Linked DNA regions of Homo sapiens: region 1 is linked to region 2. The links are contacts of gene promoters, found by promoter capture Hi-C in blood cells and fetal thymus (Javierre and others, 2016). All regions are on one chromosome and are shown on one strand. The core of a region is centred on a gene start or on the middle of the fragment in contact, and the rest is flanking DNA. Distances in the headings are between cores, read along the strand shown. Region 1 overlaps ZHX3 (zinc fingers and homeoboxes 3). Region 2 holds the start of ZHX3 (zinc fingers and homeoboxes 3).

Region 1 (2,740 bases), core at 209-2,708, 45 kb before region 2:
TTCGAAAAACAAAACAGATGAGATACAAATAAAAAATTAATGTTTTTCGTTTTTGCACAGGCTCTGCTTGACTGATCTGAATACAATTTTCTTATTCCTGACACCAAGGTCACTGACAATAAAAAAAAAATTGAAATGATTTTAGAAAGTATTACAAAAATCTCTAGGAGTGTAGCTTACAAAATCACCAGAAAAACTTGACTGCAATTCCATAAGTATGTCTTAGATTCTTTTACAATTCCTTTAAATTTTCATAAAACCAAAAAATTATTCCATCTCCAAATAGTTATTTTAAACAAGCTTTTTCAAATTAAATGAAGGAAACAATATCAGACCAATGTGGTCTGATAAATTTTAAAACAACCCAGACCCACTCAAGGTAGAAGCTTTACCAGTTTCAACAAATAAAAATGAAAAAGTAAAACTATATTCTTTAATTGTTAGTTTAGGGAGAAACCTCCTTGGGATCATCTGTTTTCATGTTTTCCTGTCCAGAGCTGGAAAGAACTTCCCAATGTACAAAGCACATGGGTTCCAACAGTCACAAGGTAACTATGACAGCAAAGCCACAGTTATCTGTGAGATCACAGAAATTATATGATGTAATTTTAAAAATTGAAAATTCATATAACATTAACCATTTTTAAATGTACAATTCAGTGGCATTTAGCACATTCACAGTATCATGCAACCATCACATTTACCATTACCTTACATTACTGATGAAATATTTTCATCACCCCAAAATGAACCTTGTACTCATTAAGCAGTCACTTCTATTCCTCCTCCTCCTCCTCCTCCAACTCCTGACAACCACTAATATGCTTTATGTCTCCATAAAATTACCTCTTGTGGATATTCCCTAAAAATGCAATCAAACAATATGTGACCTTTTCGGTTGGCTTTCTTTCACTCTGCATAATGTTTCAAAGTTCATCTACATTGCAGCATGCATCAGTACTTCATTCCAATTTATGGCTGAAAAATATTCCACTGTATATAGATGCACATCTTGCTCATCCATTCATTCATTGATAGACATTTGGGTTGTTTCCATCTTTTGGCTATTGTGAATAGTGTTGCCATGAACATGAGTGTACAAGTATTTGTCTGATACTTGTTTTCAATTACTGGACATATAAACAGGAGTGGAATTGCTGGGTCATATGGTAATTCTATACGGAACTTTTTGAGGAACTACTACACTGTTTCCCACAGTGGCTTCAACATTTTACATTCCCACCAGCAAAGTACAAGGTTCTAATTTCTCCACATTCTCATCAATGCTTGTAATTTTGTTTTTGTTTTGTTTTTAAAGTATAGACATCTTAGTAGGTGTGAAATGGTATATCATTGTGGCTTTGATTTGCATTTCCTTAATGACCAATGACCCAGGAAATCTTTTCATATGTTTCTTGGCCATTTGCATATCTTTACAAAATGTCTATTCAAGTCCCTTGCCCATATTTTAATTGGGTTATCTTTTCTGTTGTTCAGTTGTTAAGAGTTTTTCGTTTTGTTTTGTTTGTTTTTTAACAGATTTGCAGATATCTCCTCCCATTCTGCAGGTTGCCTTTCCACTTACTTGATAGCATCCTTTGCTGCAAAATTTTAACATTTGATGCCATCCAATTTGTCTATTTTTTCTTTCGTTGCTTGTGCTTTTGGTGTGTTTCTAAGAATCCATTACCAAATCCAAGGTCATGAAGATTTACCCTTATGTTTTCTTCTAAGAGTTTATAGTCTTAACTCTTATAATTAGTTATTTGGTCCATTTTGAGTTAATTTTAATATGTGTGGGGTCCAACTTCATTCTTTTGCATGTAGATAACCAGTTGTACCTGCACCATTTGTTAAAGAGATTGTCCTTTCCCCAGTGAATCATCTTGGCACTGTTCTCAAAGGTCACAGATGTACAGGTTTATTTCTGGACTCTCAGTTTTATTCCACTGATCTATATGTCTATTCTTATGCTTATACCTATTTTGATTATTGTAGCTTTGTAGTATCTTTTGAAATTGGGAAGCATGAATACTCCAACTTTGTTTTTCTTTTTCAAGATTGTTTTGACTATTCAGGGTCCCTTGCAATTCTATATGAATTTTAGGATCAGCTTTCCTATTTCTGCAAAAATAGGTACTGGAATTTTGGTCAAGATTGCACTGAATCTTTACATCACTTTGAGTAGTATTGCCATCTTTAAGTATTCTAATCCATGGATGTCTTTCCATTCTATGATGTAATTTTAAGGTTATTTTAAAATGTCCTTGATAAGGTGATACACTAACTTCTTTAGCTGTCTGTATCGCTATGGTAATTTACTAATATCCTGGAGTATGTCACAAATATGAAGTTTATACTTGCCATTGGTAATCCAAAATTCATACTCCAGAGAATGAAGGTAAATTATGTAACGTCTGTTTTGTTTGCTTTGGGCTATGGAAAAGGTCAGAACTTAAGGATTTTCATTTTCCTGATTTATAATTAAGTTTCATTATCTTCAGTTCCCAGTAGAGGAACAGAGATGCACGAAGCTTATTTGTTCACTGATAAGAGTTAAGTTGTTTAACAGACTTCGCAGAACAGTATCAGGAACTCTTTTTCATGTAGTTCAAATCCCCCCAAATTGATTATGTCACATTAGCTACTTCGCCAAAGATTTTGCTCACAGAAGCTTGAGAGTCAGAGCTTAAAGTATCAACTGTAGTTGGACAGGGTGTCGGTTGGAGAGGAAGGGTTT
Region 2 (2,844 bases), core at 192-2,691:
GCTTCTGGATTTTTCCACTGTATGTCTCTTAGAAACAAATTAAGCTCGAATAAGTTGTTCCAGCTAATGAAGTGCGCTTTTGGCTCCTTCTCCGTGGTTCAGAATTATCCGGCAAAATACCAATTGTTTTAGGATGCATTTTCTCTTAGTTTTGAAATATTGCAATACTAAGTTACCACAAATAAAGAGCATTGAGATAACAACACACAAGAACGTGTATAAATGGAAACTACTGTAATCCTTTTTTAAATTAAGGACGTGTGGACGCCTCATGAATAAACATTTAGGATATCTGGATAAATATATACTATGTGTTCACATAGATAAAAACAGAAAGGAGCATTCCTTCCTACCTCACTCCCCCACCCCAAGTCACATAAGTTTCTCGCAGGGCACAAGCCCAGGGCAATCACTGCTCAGAAATGTAAACCATGCAACTCAAAATGACTCAAGCCCTCAAACACTCCCCACCTAAGTCCTACATCCCATCCACTCCTCAATCACTTCCAACAGGCTTCCCTGAATGAAAATCCCAAACTGGGAAGGCTTAACAAGCTCCAAACTCCACTCACACGCCACTCAGGGAATCCGAGGACCTGGGGCCCACGTGTAGTGTTTTCGCGTGGGCAGACAAGGGTCCCAAGATTCAGGGTGCTACTGTACCCCGAGTGGTTCGAGTCCTGGCTCTGCCGCCTTCACTGGTCGAGCTGACGCTCTTTACACCGGGGGCATGGGCTGCCACATCCCAGCAGAGTGCAAGGGCCCTCGGGCGTGGACGCAGGCGGCTCTCGGGTGCACACGCGGAACGCACACTCGGGCATGCACTCTCACACGGTCAGGCGGGCCTGCGCGAACGCCCCCGCTTCCCCTCTACCACCCCCTTTTGCGCCTTCTACGATGGTGGCACGCGGGGCTACCCTGACCCCTAGGACCCCTGGACGCCCGCTCCTGGAGCCCGGGGGGTGATGACAGATGGCGGAGGGCGGGGCTCCGGGGGGAAGGGGCGGAGCCTCTCAGCATGGGGGTGCTGGCGGCTGACAGAAAGACCAGGGGCAGCCGGCGGGAGGGGGCTGACTGAGACTGCGGGCCGGCCGCGGGCCAGGCGTGGCGGGAAGGAGCTCGCGCAGACACAGGGTCTGACAGGCAGAGAGAGATACAGACACCGGGGACTGACAGCCGCGGGGGCACGCGGGGCCGGCTGGCCGTGGCGGGCGCTCACCTGGCAGCGGCGGCGGTGGCGGCGCCCGCGACCGGGCCGCTCTTCCCGCGCTGCGGGCCTCCCTCCCCGCGGCCGGGCGGGCGGCCGGCGCAGGCCCCGCAGAGGCGGCGGCGGCGGCGACGCCGGAGCCGCGGACTGCTGAGCGGCGGGGACGCAGCTGCACCAACCGACTCCGGGCCGCTCGGCTGGGCTCGGCCGCTCTCGGAGGCGCTCGGCTCTGCTCGGCCTTGCACGGCTCCCCTCGGCCTTGCTCGACTCGGCTGGGGGCGTGGCCCAGGCCCCCCAGTCCGCCCAGGTCGCCTCTGGCGGCCGCGGGGCGGGGCTTTCGAGCGGGTGCGAGCCCCCTGACGTCGCGGGGAGCGGACCTTGCCCCCGGCGCATGCGCCAGCACTCCTCCTCCCCCCTCCTCCCCGCCCCACCGTGTGGAGGCTGAAGAAGACGGGGAAGGAGGCGCTGGGGGCGGATGCTGCGGTCCCAGAGGTTCCTGGCTTTTGTACTCCATATCCTGCTCTTTCCAGAGGACCACTTAAAGAAGGTCACACCAGGTTACACTTTCAAAAGGATGTGTGTGTAGGCTGGCAGGGGCTCTCGCTCCTGTCTGCCCCCACTCCTCCAATTCCAGTGTTTCCCAACAAGCGTCGACTAGGAGTGGTCTTTTATCCAACCAAGGGTTCACTGCAATTTTTAATATTTTCTGTTTTCTTAAGAATAATAACAAAAAAACTAACTCTTGATCACTGTTTTAACATTGAGTCTTCAAGTACTTGAACTTTCAAACATCAGTCAGCCTCCTCGAGTCCACTAATACCGTCCTTTCTTCATAGCTGTTGTATAACCTGTAATGCCTGGGATGGGGTTGGGTTCTTTCCTGAATTCTCGTCACATGATCCAGGCACCTTTTTAGTTATGGAACCAAGTCTGCAGCAAATATGCTCAGAAAGTGGCTCCCACCTTTAGAATCCAGTGATTAGTAAACAGCAGGAGCTCTACGGTCTTGACACACCTGGATGGGAATCCCAGATCTGCATTAATCTAGCAGGTTAATAATTGTCTGAGTGACTTTGGACGTGTTAATCTCTCAACTGTAAAAGGGCAATGAAACATGAGTAAATCAGTAGAAATATTAAAAGGGTTAAATGACACCACATATAAAGATTTCTGCACAGTGCTTGGTGTTCAATAAGTAAGGCTGCCTTTAACTTCAAGTAACTTTAGAACCTTCAGATCCTGAAAACCAGGGAGCATATACACAAGTGTGAGCGATGTGTCCAAGTAAACAAGTCGATAGTCAAACACCCATACGTGGCACCTTAGCTTGCTCCTTTCACAACCTTCCCTACCTCAGTTCATGTCAACTCCATTCTTCTGATGACTCCAGACAAACCATTGGAGTCATCCTGGACTCCACTCTCCCTATCATATCCCACATGCAACCCATTAGAAAAGCCTGTCAGCTCTACCTTTAAAATACCCCTTTTCCTCTTTCCTGGAATATTGTAGTAGCCTCCTGCCTGTTCTCCACGATTCCACTGTGCTCTCATGGTGCCTTCTCTCAACACAGAAGCCAGAGGGATCCTGTTGAAACCTAAGCTCAAAAGCCCCCAGAAGGTTTCCCATCTCAGAGT

The links. Contacts are between HindIII fragments. The CHiCAGO score rates a contact against its expected background, and 5 or more counts as called.
Region 1: a contact is called between a fragment that was not itself captured here and the fragment with the promoter of ZHX3 in region 2, in 9 of 17 cell types (activated CD4 T cells, erythroblasts, endothelial precursors and 6 more). The highest score is 8.2, in activated CD4 T cells.

Annotation. Positions count from the first base shown.
Region 1 is chr20:41,271,747-41,274,486 of GRCh38, forward strand. All of the region lies in intron 1 of ZHX3 (zinc fingers and homeoboxes 3), which reads right to left. Among named protein-coding and RNA genes, the nearest start is that of ZHX3, 45 kb to the right of the region's middle. The HindIII fragment of the contact is 2,148 bases long and covers 385-2,532 here.
Region 2 is chr20:41,316,290-41,319,133 of GRCh38, forward strand. It overlaps ZHX3 (zinc fingers and homeoboxes 3), which reads right to left and starts at 1,442. Exons shown (of 4, transcript NM_001384317.1): 1 at 1,220-1,442. RefSeq lists silencers at 962-1,251, 1,262-1,711 and an enhancer at 1,822-1,871. The HindIII fragment of the contact is 7,702 bases long and covers 1-2,844 here.